4 separate regions of the Homo sapiens genome follow, and all the other regions are linked to region 1. Evidence: promoter capture Hi-C in 16 types of primary human blood cells and fetal thymus (Javierre and others, 2016). All regions are on one chromosome and are shown on one strand. Each heading gives the region's core, a stretch centred on a gene start or on the middle of the fragment in contact. The rest is flanking DNA. Distances are from core to core; before and after follow the strand shown. Region 1 holds the start of GATM (glycine amidinotransferase). Region 2 has its middle 13 kb from the start of BLOC1S6. Region 3 overlaps DUOX1 (dual oxidase 1). Region 4 has its middle 2.6 kb from the start of TRH-GTG1-9.

Region 1 (3,888 bases), core at 13-2,512:
ATGTTGACCAGGATAGTCTCAAACTCCTGACCTCAGGCAATCCGCCTGCCTCGGCCTTCCCAATTGCTGGGATTACAGGCGTGAGCCACTGCACCCGGCCTCATACAGCTCTAATGCCACGCATCAAGTTCTGCATGTACAATCTCTCATTTTGGCCTCTCAGCAACCCCCCATGTGCTAGGGACAGTAAATTCTATTGTTCTCACTTTGCAGATAAGAAGACTGCAATTCAGGAAGACATATAGTAGTCTATAAGTGATTCAGGACTGGAACTCAGTTATCCTAATTCCCTCTCGGAGGCTCTTTCCACCATGCCATCTGCTCGTCTGGTGCTTTCCATCCATGAACTCTGGAAAACAAGCTTGAGATACCAAAATTGAAAAGACAGCTCATCAAAAATGAATAGTTATAATTCTATAAGTACAAAAATGAAATACTCAAATCTCTTGCCCCCCCTCCTGCTAGGAGCATAAATGTTAACCTGAGTTCTCTAGCTCTGTACAAATCCACAGCAATTAAGACTGCACTGTGAGGGAAAATACTTTTCTAAAAAAGAATCCTGATCAAGTTGAAACAAAAATTTTAAAACATGAAATGGAAGGAACGAAACTGTCGTCCTCCCTTATTTCTGACCCACACTTGTCGATTTTCATGACGGAGTTTCTCAAGCCAGGGGCATATGGCCAAAGACCATGTGAAATGCCAGGTGTTCCAAATAACAACCGACGGGGTACTGGAAGGAAAGCACTGCCTCCCCGGGGAACAAATGGCCCAATTTCCAGACTTAGTTTTCTGCAGTCTCAAACCCGATGTTGCACCAAGAAACCACCTAATCTTTAGGTGGTTTCGTTTACCGAAAAATGAGGTGACTGGTTCAGTGCGCATATGTGAATTTAAGGGTAACACTGTACTCACGCTTTGCATATTTAAATTCTCAAATATTCACTTAATATATGCATAGACCATTGTCACTTCGTCAGAAGTCGCGTCCTGCCCAGTTGCGCGAGACTCCAACGGGCCTTCTTGCGACGCTCGGGTCTGGGTCCGGGTCCGGACGTGCAACAGAAGCCGTCAGTGGCCCCGCTGGCTAAAAAAGGGCAAGCATCGGAGGCTCGAGCCAGCGGCCGCGGCGCTTCCCGACAGTTCCTAATTCGGGGCGCTACGCCGGCCCCACCACCTGTTCCCGGCAGCCAATGGGGCCGCGGGGGGCGGCCGGGGCGGAGCGCGGCTACAAAAGGCCTCGGGCCCCGCGCGCCCGCCCACCCCGCTCCGGGCGCGCTCTCGGGAAGGCTTGGACCGACGCGGCCCAGAGGCCAGGAACATTCCGCGCGTGGACCAGCCGGGCCAGGGCGATGCTGCGGGTGCGGTGTCTGCGCGGCGGGAGCCGCGGCGCCGAGGCGGTGCACTACATCGGATCTCGGGTGCGTGCGCCACCGGCCTCGTCTGGCGGCCGCGTGACTCACTCGATCCTGCGGGCGGCGTGGAGCACTCGCTCGCTCCCTGCCCGGAGCCGCCACCTTCCCTCGCTTTCCCTAGCCGGAATTGCACGAGAGTGTCCCTTCTGGTATCCCTGGGAAGCTCAGCTTCAAGAGCCTTCGCAGGCTCCAGGAGCTGGGCGGCGTCCCCCAGTCAGGGGGAACTTGCGTTGCGGCTCCAGCCCTTGGGGTCCACTTGCTGTCTGCGCGTCCGCGGCCTGCTGGCCCACGGCGCAGGGGGCGCCGCCCCCCTCTACCGGACCTTGGTGCGCTGCACCAAGCTTCCCGCTCGGAGCAAGGGGTTGGGACGACGGAGGCTCCTCTTAGTAAAAGGGTGGCGTTATTGGGGTTCAGTAGCCTGAGTGGGCGTCGAGTTGGGGAGATTTCTGGAAAATGCGTGTGGGGTAGATGGATGGGGAGAAGAGGCAAGCAAAGTGGGAATCGGGGACGGGGAGCGAGCGACCAGATTCACTCCAAGTATAACATGGGATCCCACGTCTGGAGAGGAGTCGGGGCGAGTGCAGCCTGTAAGCAGAGTTTCTGCGCTCCCCGCCCTCGGCTGCCCTGGCAGCAGACCCTCCCATGCTTCTAGTACTGGAATCGCTCCGACATTCTGGCTTCCTCCCAGCAACTGGTTCCTGAACAGCTGTCATTCTCCGTCTTTCTTCTGCCTCCACCCGAGTTCTCCTCCTGCCCACTTCCTAAGGCTTTTAACAGAGCAGGATAGAGATTTGGGGGGTTGAGGTTTGCTCAGGGGTTGAGGGACCCTCCCTGCTCTAGATTTTATAGGCCATGCATTTTTAAAAGGCTTTTGAAGTTTTTAGATCTCCTTCTTATTTGTTTGAATTTACGCCTGAGCTAATCCTGACCTTGGCTAGGGTACTGTGGACCATCTGTAAAATGGAGCAGATGGCAGTTGCTCACTCTCAGAATTGAAGTGCCAAAGAATGCGAAGTGTATGTCAAAGATGAAAAAAATTTGATTTGAAGCTGGTTATTCTGAAAGATAAGGTCCTTTACAAATGTTCCCAACTTTTCATTTGTAAAAAAAAATAAATAAAAAGCCTAATATTGGTAACCTTTGATACTTAAGGGAAAAGGAGGTTCCGTCCCCAGCTGAGACTGGCGGGAAGTTTTAGAGCAGCTGTCTATGGTTTTCTGAGAGGAGGACTGACCCATCTGCAAAACAGTTGCTTAAAGCTTGAGTGCAGGAATTGCATTCTGAGATAAAGATGGGGGTGTATGGTAGCTGGGGACACGGTCTTCTGAGGAGTTTTAAAGAGTTACAGCAATTAATAGATAAGAAGACAATTTGTAGATAAACAAGAGGGTTAAAAAAATTATCTGTAATCCCACTACCCACCTACACACTGTTAACGTCTTGGTTTATGCTGTTCTAAAGGGGTTTAAGTGGCAATGTTATGCTGGATTTTTACTCCATCTCCACTTCCTCCTCTCTGTAAGTACTGATAGAGCAATGCAATACAATAATCTTTTCTTTGTTCTTGGAAGCTTGGACGAACCTTGACAGGATGGGTGCAGCGAACTTTCCAGAGCACCCAGGCAGCTACGGCTTCCTCCCGGAACTCCTGTGCAGCTGACGACAAAGCCACTGAGCCTCTGCCCAAGGACTGCCCTGTCTCTTCTTACAACGAATGGGACCCCTTAGAGGAAGTGATAGTGGGCAGAGCAGAAAACGCCTGTGTTCCACCGTTCACCATCGAGGTGAAGGTAAAGGAAGGCTATTCACATGTCTGAAAGTGCGCTCCCTCCTCACCTGCTGCTGCTACCCTCTGACTGCTTTCCCTTCAGCTTACTCCCAGACCTCTCAATCCAGTGATTAAGTTATCTTACTTGACACCTCTGTGGTATTTGACACTATTTACACCAATGATAATTGCTTCCTTCCTGAAGAGCTTCCTGAAGCTCTTCCCTTGGATTCTGAGAGAGCTTTTCTGGGAATAATAGTTCTTTCACTGTCCTCAGATCTTCTTCCGTCACAGCCTGTAATGGCAAGGTTGAACAGAATATTACTTTCAGCCCCCTTCTCTTAGCCATTCTCACAGCTACCGCTCCCACCTCCTCTCTGGTCCGGATCTCTGTATTGAACTCCTTCCAGATCAACGAGTTAAACTCCTTACGGGATATTGCCACAGGACTTCAAACTTGGCACATCTGGAGTTCAGTTGCCAGCCACCTGCTCAAGTGGATCCCTCCTCATTCCTGCCTTTTAATTATTGGCATTCCTATTTAATCAAGCTAAAACACAAAAGAATCATCTTTGATTTCTCCTTATGTCACGTGATGTAACAAGGCTTTTGTCAAAAATGAATCTTGCCTCATTCCTCTGCTTTGCCTCTCCCTAAAGGTTGGGAGCTCATCTGCTGCCTGGACTATTGCAGTTAACTCCTAAC
Region 2 (4,425 bases), core at 1,903-4,402, 190 kb before region 1:
ACATCATCATCACTCAAAGTCCATAGTTTGCATTAGGATTCACTCTTGATATTCCCCATTCTATGGGTTTTGACAAATGTATAATTGCATATATTCACCACTGGAGTGTCATACAAGATAGCTCCACTGCCCCAAAACATCTGTGCCCACCTATTCACCCCTCTCTCCCTGCAACTCCTGGCAACCACTGATCTTTTGACTGCATAGTTTTGCCCTTCCCAGATTGTCACATAATTGGAATTGTATAGTATGTAGTCTTTTCAGACTGGTTTCTTTCACTTAGTAATATGCATTTAAGCTTCCTCCATATCTTTTCATGGCTTAAGAGCTCATTTCTTTTAGCACTGAATAATATTCCATTGTATGGATATACCACAGCTTGTACATTCACCTACTGAAAGACATCTTGGTTGTTCTCAAGTTTTGGCAATTATAAATGAAACTGCTATAAACGCCATGTGCAGATTTTTGTGTATACGTAAGTTTTCAGATCAGTTGGGTAAATACCAAGCAGTGAGATTTCTGGATCATAAGGTAAGAGTATGTTTAGTTTTGTAAGAAACTACCAAACACTCTTCCAAAGAGGCTGTACCATTTTGCATACCAACGTGCAATGAATGAGGGTTCCTGTTGTTCTACGTCCACACCAGCCTTTGGTGGGGTCAGTATTTTGAATTTCACCCATTGTAATGGGTGTGTAGTGGTATTTCATTGTTTTAATCTGCAATTTCCTAATGGCATATGATGTTGAGCATCTTTTCATATGCTTCTTTGCTATCTATATATTTTCTTCAATGAGATGTGAGTTGACATCTTTTACACATATTTGAAGCAAGTTGTTTGTTTTCTTATCACTGAGTTTTAAGAGTTATTTGTATATTTTGCATAATAGTCCTTTATCAGACATGGTTTTTTTGTTGTTGTTTTTTTGTTTTTATGAGACGAAGTCTCACTCTGCCACCCAGCTTGGAGAGCAGTGGTGCAGTCTTGGCTCACTGCAACCTCTGCCTCCTGGGTTCAAGTGATTCTCATTCCTCAGCCTCCCAAGTAGCTGGGATTACAGGCATGCACCACCACACCTGGCTAATTTTTGTATTTTTAGTACAGACAGGGTTTCACCACGTTGGCCAGGCTGGTCTCAAACTCGTGACCACAGGTGATCTGCCTGCCTCAGCCTCCCAAAGTGCTGGGATTACAGGTGTGAGCCACTGCACCTGGCCTATCAGACATGTTTTTGAAAATATTTTCTCCCAGTCTATGGCTGGTCTTCCCATTCTCTTGATTTAATTTTTAAAATGAACATTAGAAAGCAACTTAGGACAGTATGTCTCTATAGAAAGAGGGCAGATTTTCAAATTACTCACAAAAGCACATGACCAGTTTTGACATTTATAGTCAGGGACACCTTTCTGAGGTATACCTCCATAGAAATGATAGCAGCAGCGACTCATCTAAAGTGGCCATTGCCAAGATGCCAGCTACAGCAGGGAGGCACTGGGTAGTTCCTTAAAGGAAAATACGATCCATGGAGCAGGCAGGAGCCCTGCCCTTCGGCTGCAGACCCAGGGGTCTCTGTGCTCTTGGGAGCCCAGAGCCAGCTCTCTCCCAGAGCCCCCTGCCAGCACCTGTTCCTGCTGCCTGGCTTCTCCCACTGTCAGCTCCTGCTCTAATCCTGGAGCAAGGTTGGAGCCGAGCCCCGGCATTGTTGCAGCCCAGCCAGGGGGCTCATGCTCAGGGCAGTGCTGACACACCAGCCCCCAGCCACATCAGTCCCCTCCAGACTTTGGGTGATGAGGATCATGGGAGGGAAGCCGAGGGGGACTGCACGTAGCTCAACACTGGCCTGCAGGCACCTCTTGGCACAAACATCCTGGGTGCCAATGAATGGCCGTGAGAGGCAGACAGGCTCCTGGGAGGAAGGGGGTGGGTCCCCAGTGAAGCTCCACTTTCAGGCCAGGGAAGGTCCTACCAGTCCTGCCCACCAGAGGGGGAACTTGTGGTGCTTTTTCCTGAGCCCACCTATTGCTGCCCATGGACCAATCAGCATATACTTTCCCCACTCTGAATGAAAACCATAAAAACCCCAGACTCAGCCAGAGCAGGGCAGACATCAGGATGGCCAGCTGCATAGAGGAACTACCATCTCCGCTGAGAGATGAACATTTTTGGGGATGACCTGTCAGCAGAGAGGAGCCATCCACTCCAGGCCTCCTCTCTGCTGAGAGCTGCACACTCGATGGGACGACCTGCCCACAGAGAGGACCTGCTCACCGCGGGTCTCCTCTGAGCTGTTCTGACCCTCAGTAAAGTTCTTCTTCGTCTTGCTCACCCTCCACTTGTCTGCATACATCACTCTTCCTGGACATAGGACAAGAACTTGGGCAAAGGCACCACCACCCACAGAGGTTTCCAGCCAGAAAAGCAGCACCTCAAATATCCCAAGAAAAGAAATAGCAAAGGGCTAAAGTCAAAAGATTTGTTTCAAGCCCAGCTAAGATAATCATTAGCTGTATTAGATTTTTGTCTAACCAACTAGCAAGTAGAGAAGTCCAGACCTTCCTAAACAAACAAAGGAAGTTTTGATCAACTGAGCTTGAAAGTCCGGGGGCTGCTCTGGCTTCAAGGATTTCTATGTCTTCTCCTCAGCCAAAATAGGAATCTCTCCCTCTCTCTCCCTTTGATTCTCCACTCTGCTTTCTCCTATGTAGCATTCACTCTAGGAGCTCTCTCAATGTGATAGGAAAATAGCTCCAGGGTTTCATGATCCTTACATCTCCCAAGTGAAGTCAGTGCGCTCCTAGCATTCATTTATTTCAATCCCTTAAAAAAAAAAAAAAAAAAACTCAAAGCCAGGCACAGTGGCTCACACTTGTAATCCCAGCACTTTGGGAGGCTGAAGCAGGTGGCTCACTTGAGGTCAGGAGTTCAAGACCAGCCTGGCCAACATGGTGAAACCCCGTCTTTACAAAAAATACAAAAATTAGCCAGGTGTGGTGACGCATGCCTGTAATCCCAGCTACTCGGGAGGCTGAGGTAGGAGAATTGCTTGAACCCAGGAGGCAGAGGTTGCAGTGAGCCAAGATTGCACCACTGCACTCCAGCCTGGGCAACAGAGCAAGACTCCATCTCAAAAAAAAAAAAAACACTCAAATACTTGGATTACATGCCCACCCGTATACCAATCTCTGCATCTAGGGGAATATAGTGGACCCTGATGGGTCAGTGTGGGTCACACATAACAGACAGAGGCAGAGCCCCTTGACTGACAGACCTGCTAGGAGTTATAGAAAGGCACTGGGTAGTTCCTTAAAGGAAAAATCAGAGTCCTATTACCAAAAAGAGGAAGGAAATTGGCCCAACCAAAACAACAGATGTCAACTATATCAGTTATGAGATTTTAGTCAAGTCACTTACTCTCTGAACCTGTGTTTTTTTCATCAGTAAAAGAGGCATGATAATGATAATACCAGACCCATTACTCGGTGTAGTTCTTGTAAGAATCAAGCACGCATTATATGAACAGGATTTGTAAACTGCTGCAAGACACTATTGTAAATAATAGCACCCACTAAACGAGCATTTATTATGGCTAGAAGAAATAGTATTATTTCTGTTATTAGTGCCTTGGATACATATATTCACTAACCTTAATGTGATCTCTTAAATAGACTTTAGGTTTCCTAAGTAACCATTCAACCTTAATTTGGCTTCTTATGTAGACTTCTCTGTTGAAATAAGAGGGACTAAATGACTTAAATGAATATCGGAGGGCTTGGCAATTCTATGTTTTATTAAAATTCATTTCTTTTATACAAATCAACTTCATACAATAGGCAGTTTTTTAGTGGTTAATATCAACTGGTTAAGCTGGCAACTGAAGTTGCAAACCTGCAAAATTAGAAGATCAAGCTGTGAGGGATAGAGAACATCACCAATACCAGTGTTCTGCTTCTATTGGCAGGTGGGGAATCTTTTTTATTTTTTATTTAGTATTATCAAATCTGACAGTAAATGAATATCCGTAATATTGAGTGTTAATCATTTGAAATAGTATCAGTGTTTTTGAACTATTAGTAAAACTAGTCACAAATGATGATTCATTCAAATAACTTTAAATATTATTCAAAAGACAGCGATTCTTCTTCCACTTTGGGGTTTTCACAAAATTCATTTGTTAATCTTACATGTAGATATCAAAGTAGCCATCAGTCATTATTACTTTATTCTCTATGTTATGGAAAAAGTGTGATTTTAATGACCATAGGCATCATATATTATTCCAGGACTCAGCTTTCCTTTTAGGATAGATTTATTTAAATTAGCTAGGAGATAGATCATGCTTCATTTAAAATTGCTAAAATAAGTACTTGCATTAGCTATGCAAAATAGTCCTTTTTTTACTTAAAATGTTCTCTTCAAAGTGTT
Region 3 (4,199 bases), core at 1,284-3,783, 220 kb after region 1:
TCCCCTCAGTCCTCTCTACCACATCTGCCTGTTAACTCTCTTAGTGCATGCGTTGTCATCCACAGTACTTTTGTTTTTTGGGGGTTGGGGGGACAGAGTCTCATTCTGTCACCCAGGCTGGAGTGCAATGGCATGATCTTAGCTCACTGCAACCTCCGCCTCCCAGGTTCAAGAGATTCTCCTGCCTCAGCCTCCCGAGTAGCTGGGATTACAGGCACCTGCCACCAAACCCAGATAATTTTTGTATTTTTAGTAGAGATGGGGTTTCACCATGTTGGCCAGGCTGGTCTCGAACTGACCTCGAATGATTTGCCCACCTCGGCCTCCCAAAGTGCTGAGATTACAGGTGTGAGCCACCGCGCGCGGCCAACAGTACTTTTGCTTCCTCATTCATTTACATGTTTACTGTCGTTTTCCCCACTGGACTGAAGGGGTAGGGACTGTTTGCCATTATAAGCTCCTAGCAGTTTCTGCCTGGCATATGATAGGCACACAGTAACTGTTGGGGAAAGGCGCTTCCCCAGTTTATCCTCTCCTTTTCCAGGCTAAGAATACCTAACTAGTCTCCCTTTTCCATGTAATAACTGACAAGTATCATCCAGCTCTGGTCCTTTCCCTAATAAGTTTGTCTAACATGGTCAGACACTACTTGGTCACATTCTTCCCACTTGCTTGCTCCTGAGTCTGGCTCAGTTTGACTTCTGCGTCCACCTCTCCTTAGGACCTTCCCACTGAGGGCCCAGCAGCCCCACAAATGGGTAAAATATATCTTTTCAGGCCATGTTGGCTCCTACTCTTAGAAGCCTGAGGCACTAGTGACCACCTCCTTCTCGCCACTTCTGCAACAATGCTCTACTGGTTCTCCCACTTTGGGCCACTCGCTTTCCATCTCCTCCACTGGCTTAATTCCTTCTGCCACCCCCAGTCATGGGTGTTGCCCAAGCCTGGTTTTGTCACCCTCTGCTCATCTCTTTCTATGCTCCGCCATGTGGCATGGCCTCTCAGCTGAGCCACAGCCCCTCAGTTTCAACTGCAGCTGCCACATGATCACCAGCAGCATGTCCTGCCACCACCTAATGCCCTATGGCCATCTGCAGCCAGCCCTGTCCCCTCTGCCTCCTGAATATCCTATCACCATTCCCACCTCTGCCTGTGCTCATGCCCTTCCTTTTACCTGGATTGCTCTTCAGTTTCCACTCTGCCCTGTCAAAGCTTAGCTTACCTCCCCCAGACCCTTGGCCCAAGTCCAGTCTTCTCCTCAAAGTCTTCCCTAGCCAATTTAGCCCAAGTGAAACTCCCTTCAGTGAACTCCTATAACTTACTGTTTGGAACACTCCGCTCAGCAATTAATCCTATATCAAGTGTTCATTTTGATCATTTCATGCATGTGCCACTTTTTGTCACAGCGAATCCTAAGTTCCTAAGGAAGAGATTAGAGTCTCCCCTTCTGCTGCTGGGCCCTACAGAGAGCTAGTACATAAAAGACCCTCCACAGATACACAGATAGCTGCTTTTTTTTTTTTTTTTTTTTTTTTTTTTTGAGATGGAAGTCTCGCTGTCACCCAGGCTGGAGTGCAGTGGTGTGATCTTGGCTCAATGCAACCTCCACCTCCCTGGTTCAAAAAATTCCCCTGCCTCAGCCTCCCGAGTAGCTGGGATTAGAGGCGCATGCCACCACTCCCGGCTAATTTTTTTGTAGAGACGGGGTTTCACCATGTTGGCCAGACTGGTCTCCAACTCCTGATCTCAGGTAATCCACCCGCCTCAGCCTCCCAAAATGCTGGGATTACAGGTGCGAGCCACTGCACTCGGCCAACAGATAGCTTTTAAACTGAACTCTGGTTCCCCATTCAGGCGTTCCCTTCCCCCAGCTAAGTCTTCCTAGATTCTTGAACCTTTCCCTACAAGACTAACTTAAACCTCTCTGAGCTCTTCTTTGAACTGGCTCTTTCTTCCCCAAGTTCACTGTTTCATTGTGGAGCCCACACCCACCCCTAAGGCTTTCTGAGCATCCAAACAGGCTGAGTACAATGGCAGGGTGACGTCATGCTGCTCTGTTTCTACACCCTATTTTGTGCTGGCTTTCCTTTTAAACCACAAGGCTGCTGCAGATTCCTTGTTGGCTGGTGGGATGGGGTGGTGGCTCAGCCAGCTCAGCCTCTGATGTGCTAGCCCTGCCCTCTTCTGCCTGGATCAGAAGCCTGGCCATCCTTCCCCAGGGTCTAGTCTATACTGGGGTCCTTTACTTGTAATTTATCTTTCTGCTTGAAGTCAAGTGGTCACGCCTGGGACAAGTGGGAACAAAGAGGGTGCTCTTGCCCTGATCTCCCTGAGATGAGATTGTCCCAAACTGCTGGTGAGGATAGCCTAGCATAGAGGCCTCCACCTTTCTTTTTTCCTTTTTTATTTCTTTTTTTTTTTTTAAACAGGCTGTCCATCTGTTGCCCAGGGTAGAGTGTAATGGCATGATCTCGGCTCACTGCAACCTTCACCTCCTGGGTTCAAGCGATTCTCATGCCTCAGCCTCCTGAGTAGCTAGGACTATAGGTGTGCGTCACCACACTCAGCTAATTTTTGTATTTTTAGTAGAGACGAGGTTTCGCCATGTTGACCAGGCTGGTCTTGAGCTCCTGGCCTCAGGTGATCCACCCACCTCGGCATCTCAAAGTGCTGGATTACAGATGTGAGCCACTGTGCCCGGCCACACCTTTCGAACCCCTGACTTTCCTGCTGGCAGGAAGGGTGGCTTGGAATCCTAGTGATGCCTACACCCCAGGACAAATCAGAAAGGGCTCTGGGTCTTAGGGAGCCTGCCTGGCCACTCTTCTGGATCTCTCATCTAGTTCAAAGTAGCTGCTTTATCACCAGGAACAAGAACGTCATTTCCACCCCCAACAGAAGCAGTAGCCGAGAATGCTAGGGCTCCACTCATTATTGGGAAGAGGAGGAGAGAGGGTAAATTAGTCATAGCTTCCAAAGAAAGAGATGTTTCTTAGGAAACGCATATCATCAGTTCTAGGAAACATCCTAAGCCAAGGCTAAGTAGTCATCTTCAGAACTGTGAAATGCTGAGCAACAGGCAAGATGAAACAGACCCTCCTATCTGTCAGTGAGGACAGAACTGCACCTGAGAGAAGGCAGGTCAGATGGCAGGAGCCAACCTGACCGAGGCCATGGTGCAGTTTCTCTTTGTCTCGGCACAAAGGAGAGCCCTGTATGCAGTTCTGCTGCAGGGAACAGCTGGAGCCTTGGGATTTGGTTTAGCTTCTAAGTGAGGCCCTCAGAGTACCCTTTAGGGAATTGCCTCTGCTCATGAGGAAGGCAGACAAGCAGAGCCACAACACAGGGACACAGAATCAGCTCGGGAACTAACCAGCTAGGCAGCCGATGAGAAACCCAGGGGAGGGTGAAGGGAACATGAGAAGGGAGGCAACATGGAGAGAGGGAGGCAGGAGCCAAGGTTAAGGAGAAGGAAAGGGGATAGGTAGAGTCTTAAAAATCTATTTGATTGGCCTGGCGCGGTGGCTCACGCCTGTAATCCCAGCACTTTGGGAGGCCGAGGTGGGTGGATCACGAGGTCAGGAATTCGAGACCAGCCTGGCCAACATGGTGAAACCCTGTCTCTACTAAAGATACAAAAATTAGCCAGGCATGGTGGTGCGTGCCTGTAGTCCCAGCTACTCAGGAGGCTGAGACAGGAGAATTGCTTGAACCCGGAAGGCGGTGGTTGCTGTGAGTTGAGATCATGCCATTGCACTCCAGCCTGGGCGACAGGGCGAGACTCTGTCTCAAAAAATAAAAAATAAAAATTCATTAGATCAACAATCCAACTGAAGTCATTTTGAACAAGCTTATATACTGTACAGGTGGCACTTAGCAGGTGTGACTAATGCCCCCAAAAATAGGATCAGAACAAAAGTGGCAGAACCCATTTAAGATAAGTTTCTTCAAAAAGGGTGATGCTCTCTTGGGTGCAGGTAGTCCACCCAGGAGCCAAAACCAGCCACCCAAAGTGGGGAAAGACTAGCTGGGCAGAAGTGGGGTGGAGGTGTCTGCGAGGAATGGAGATCAGTCTGGCAGGGCTGCTACTGCAAAACCCATGCCAGGGAGCCGAGCTTCCAAGTGCTGCATATTGGGGTCATCCTAATGGAGAGCCCTGTACTATCATCTCCACCTTCAAAGAGGGACGTCGAGAAGTG
Region 4 (4,269 bases), core at 488-2,987, 170 kb after region 1:
GTCCTAGTTTATCAGTTCTAAAAAGTTTGGAAACCACTGATTTAGACCTTTGCTTCTGCAAGGCAGCTCCTGCATTCTTCCTGACTCAGGAATTAGTTTCAGGTCTCATGCCAGGAATAAAGTCCTGCACCATCTTTCCCTACAGTTTCTTTTTGTGGATATGGAGAGAAGTACCTAGAAACAAGAGACCGACTACAGCATATTGAACAGTCTATGCTGGTCACTTGACTTTGGATGAGGGGCAAATCTCAGTTGACAAACTCAGCTCAAAAATAAACTACTCTAGGCAAGAAGTATCTTATACAGCTTTGCAGCCCCCAATGACTTAAGAACTAAGAGATGCTAGTTTATGGGAAGAATGAAGAATGAATGAATGAATGAATGAGTGGATGGATGGATGGATGGATGGATGGATGGATGGATGGATGAATGGATAGATAAGTAGATGGATGAAATCTGAGTCCTCATTACCCAGAGAATCCCTGTGGAACAGGCTCAGTTAAGTCAGAAGTGGTATGTTGCAAATTAAATGAGTCTTTTCCAGCCTCAGCTTTTCACTACTACTTCCTGGGGCACAGCGCCTTCTAGTGGAAATCCAGATGTGCTGCCTCCTCCCTAGACGGCCCTAAACATGGGCCCTTTGATGACTCCCTCCCAGATCACCATCTCCTCACTGTGAAAACCTCAATGACATCCCCATTGATGAGGCTCAGTAGATTCAGGCAGGTCCCTTCTAGTAACCCAAGTACTCACAAGATGAACAATGAAGGATTCCATTAGAGCTTTAGGCTAGAGCAGCACTTCTCAAACTTTCCTGTGCAGATGAATCACTTGGAGAGGACCTTGTGGAAAACCGAAGATTTTCACTGGGTAATTCTGAGTTGTGGATCAAGATTCTGAATTTTGGACAAGCCTTCCAGGACCAGAGCCTGCTGGTCCAGTGGCAGCTGCTCAACACTGCGCCCCTGTGGGGGTTGGCAGCTCCCAGATATACGAGGTATAACCAGGGAGTATAACCAGGAAGCTGTGGGGTTGATGGTTTAAGCAGACAATCTGAAGCTTATAAATTACTGTTGTCCCTTTCAAGGTTTGCCCTTTGAAGTCTACACACTCCTACCAAAAAAAAAAAATTGTTTTTCTTTTGCTGGAATGTTATTTATAAAACATTTCTGGCATTGTCATTGAAATTTTTGTGCCTTAAAAGACTCAGTGGTGACATTTTTCTCTTTGAAGGTAGCTTTAAAAGCAGTCAAAAGTTATTTCAAAATAGAATGTGATTATAAATATTGAGGTGGATGTACTCATATGGCTTATAAATTAGCCCTGAAAATAATCTCCAAATAAGAATTCCAAAAATATTTTGGGCAGCTGTTTGGAGAAAGTGGAATGCCTGATTTGAAACACAATACTCATTTGGATGTTTATGTTCCAGGGTGTTCATTTTTAAGGAGTTGATTTCATTATGTTATATTCCCATCTACTATATTATTTAAGTAAAACTTCAGTAGGGCTTTGTAAGTGCCAGGCACTATTGCTTTACAAATATTCATTCATTTAATCTTCATAACAATCCTTTTACAGATGAGAAGTCATTCTACAATCATTTTACAGGTGAGAAAACTGAGGCATGGAGACATGTTGCTTCCCCAGGGTCACCTAGTTAGTAAATGGATGAGTTGAGATTCAAATCTTAAACAGCCTACTTTCAGGTGTCAGAGGCTTCATTACTAAGCTATGCTAGCTCCCCCAACAGAGACGAGGTCTCATTATACTGTCTAGTCTGGTCTTGAACTCCTGGGCTCAAGCAATCCTCCCACCTTAGTCTCCCAAAGTGCTGGGATTACAGGCGTGAGCCACCATCCCCAACTTATGCTACCCCTTAATTAGAGTTAGGACTAGTCTAGTACTATCAACTACTGTACCTCAGGGTCTATCAGATGGAAGGGAAAAAAATTCAAAGTGACTTAGAGGTTGGAAACCTGCAGAAATTAACAAATCCAACCAAGATGGGAACAACTGGAGCTGGAATGTGTGAACAGGGTGCTCTTAAGTATAAGCACCCTACCTCTTTCCTGGCACTGAGACCTAGAGAAGAGTTCCAACCTCAAGCTGGAAGTGATAGGAGGAAATATTACATTCCCAGAATCAGAAATCATAAAACAATTTTAAAAGCAAGGGACCAACAGGAAGGGGGTGCTGACTGATTGCTCAGAGAGGGTGTCCCAGGGCAGCGGGGTCTTGATGAGGTCATTCCAGGCCAGGGTCTCCAGGAGCAGGGCTTTGCCAGCCCTGACATTCCATTTTGTCAGTGTACCTAGAGATAAGTAGGCACAAGGGAAATGAATTATGCTAACCAGACTCTTATGAGTCTAAACCAAAACACCCACAGTTAGGAGAACAGTGCCAATAAGCTTGTTCAAAGCATGCTTTTTCCTGTAGGGAAGTCTAATGGGCAAATCATTATCAAAGTCTGTTTTGTAAGGAAAATTGACTGAGTGACCTCAGAAGAGGATGTTATGAAATGTTGAGAGCTGGATGCGCCCATCTCATGGACTACCGTGTAGCTGCCAAAAAGGCAGCCCTCCCCTCGTGTCACTCTTCCTGCAACTAGGTCACAATACAACACTTTCAGTTCAGCTTTCTTTAGCATTCCTGACCTCAGACATGGATGGCTAGTGGGTTATCTCAGATGGTGAATGTTTGTGATTTTTGTTTTATTGGTTGACGCTTTTTTTTTTTTTTGAGACAGGGTCTTGTTCTGTTGCCCAGGCTGGAGTTCAGTGGCATGATCACGGCTCACTGCAATCTCCCCCTCCCAGGCTCAAGCAATTCTCCCACTTCAGCCTCCTGAATAGCTGGGACTACAGGTACACACCGCCACACCTGGCTAATTTTTGTATTTTTTATAGAGAGAGCTTCTCACCATGTTGTCTAGGCTGGTCTCAAACCCCGGAGCTCAAGCAATCCTCCCACCTCAGCCTCCCAAAATGCTGGGATTACAGGCATGAACCACCATGCCCAGCCTCTTGGTTGACACTTTTTCCTTGTAGTACTCTTAGAGAGTGGCTACTCCTAACTTTCTCCTCAGGGTGTGGGAGCAGCTCATTGCCTACTGAAGCACCTGCAGCAGGGCAGTGGGGGCTGGTCTTCAGGGGAAAAGCCAGAGCCTTTCCTGGCATCCCACCCTGACACCTTATTCCAGCCCACAGATTGAAATCCGTCACAGCAGTTATTTGGTGAGGGGTTGGAGGAATATAAGTCACCACATTCCTGTTGGCCAGTTCTTTTTTTGTTGTTGGCGATGTTGATTTTCTAGACATATAACGTTTGAATCAGTCATCCAAAGCTTGGCAAGTTCTCAGGCTCACCTTTCCCCATTCTATTTTGCGCAGAACACTCTCGAGGTGTGAGCTGTCCTGTTGTGTGGTTTAAACTCGCCAAATGTAGAGAACTGGGAGACTGGAGACCTGGGGAGATTACAGCCCCCACGCAGTGCCTTGCTTTTTTTTTTTTTTTTTTTTTTTTTTTTTTGAGACAGGGTCTTGCTCTGTCGCCCAGGCTGGAATGCAGTGGTGTGATCTCAGCTCACTGCAACCTCTGCCTCTCGGGTTCAAGCAATCCTTCCACCTTAGCCTCCCAGGTAGCCGGGACTACAGGCACACGCCACCATGCCCTAATTTTTGTATTTTGGGTACAGACAGGGTTTCGCCATGTTGCCCAGGCTGGTCTGGAGCTCCTGAGCTCAAGAGATCCGCCCACCTCGGCCTCCCAGAGTGCTGGGATTACAGGCATGAAGCCAGTGCCTAGCTTTTAAGTGCTGTTCATTCTTTACTGATTGATTGTGGGTAGAGGGGGCGCAACCCCATTGCAATGTCTGTCTCTCCCAGGAATGATCTCGGGCTTGCCTTGCCACCCTCAGGACACCTGAGAGGAGCTGGAGAGGCTCATTCCTCAGTGCCCTCTCATTCCCTCCTTGAGAGTGACATAGCCACCACCAGCTGCCTGAAAGTCAAATCCAAAACTCACTTCCATTTTGCCTAATGCCAAATGACAGACTTGAATTTGTTGAGTTTGGGTTTTTTAGGTCCACATAAAACAAGCAAACAAAATGTGCTTAAACTTGAGGTAGATTAGGGGAAAACCCTCCAGGAGAAAACCCCCTCTCACCTAGGAGACTGTGGAGATGAAGGCCACAAACCTCTCATTAGCACCCCTCATAGTGGCTACTGGAACCAGCACCTCTAGTGCAGTCATATATTTCACTTGTCA

The links. Contacts are between HindIII fragments. The CHiCAGO score rates a contact against its expected background, and 5 or more counts as called.
Region 2: a fragment that was not itself captured here is called in contact with the fragment with the promoter of GATM in region 1 in 1 of 17 cell types (monocytes); the score reaches 5.1 in monocytes.
Region 3: a fragment that was not itself captured here is called in contact with the fragment with the promoter of GATM in region 1 in 12 of 17 cell types (monocytes, naive B cells, M0 macrophages and 9 more); the score reaches 10.7 in monocytes.
Region 4: a contact is called between a fragment that was not itself captured here and the fragment with the promoter of GATM in region 1, in 10 of 17 cell types (monocytes, naive B cells, M1 macrophages and 7 more). The highest score is 9.8, in monocytes.

Annotation. Positions count from the first base shown.
Region 1 is chr15:45,375,918-45,379,805 of GRCh38, reverse strand. It overlaps GATM (glycine amidinotransferase), which reads left to right and starts at 1,262. Exons shown (of 9, transcript NM_001482.3): 1 at 1,262-1,421; 2 at 2,987-3,205. The coding sequence starts at 1,353. RefSeq lists an enhancer at 914-993 and a silencer at 1,134-1,463. The HindIII fragment of the contact is 1,395 bases long and covers 364-1,758 here.
Region 2 is chr15:45,571,751-45,576,175 of GRCh38, reverse strand. No RefSeq gene overlaps it. Among named protein-coding and RNA genes, the nearest start is that of BLOC1S6, 13 kb to the left of the region's middle. The HindIII fragment of the contact is 5,703 bases long and covers 301-4,425 here.
Region 3 is chr15:45,156,042-45,160,240 of GRCh38, reverse strand. The region is part of intron 28 of DUOX1 (dual oxidase 1); the gene reads right to left. Among named protein-coding and RNA genes, the nearest start is that of DUOX1, 28 kb to the right of the region's middle. The HindIII fragment of the contact is 2,638 bases long and covers 1,215-3,852 here.
Region 4 is chr15:45,201,643-45,205,911 of GRCh38, reverse strand. No RefSeq gene overlaps it. Among named protein-coding and RNA genes, the nearest start is that of TRH-GTG1-9, 2.6 kb to the right of the region's middle. The HindIII fragment of the contact is 1,352 bases long and covers 1,062-2,413 here.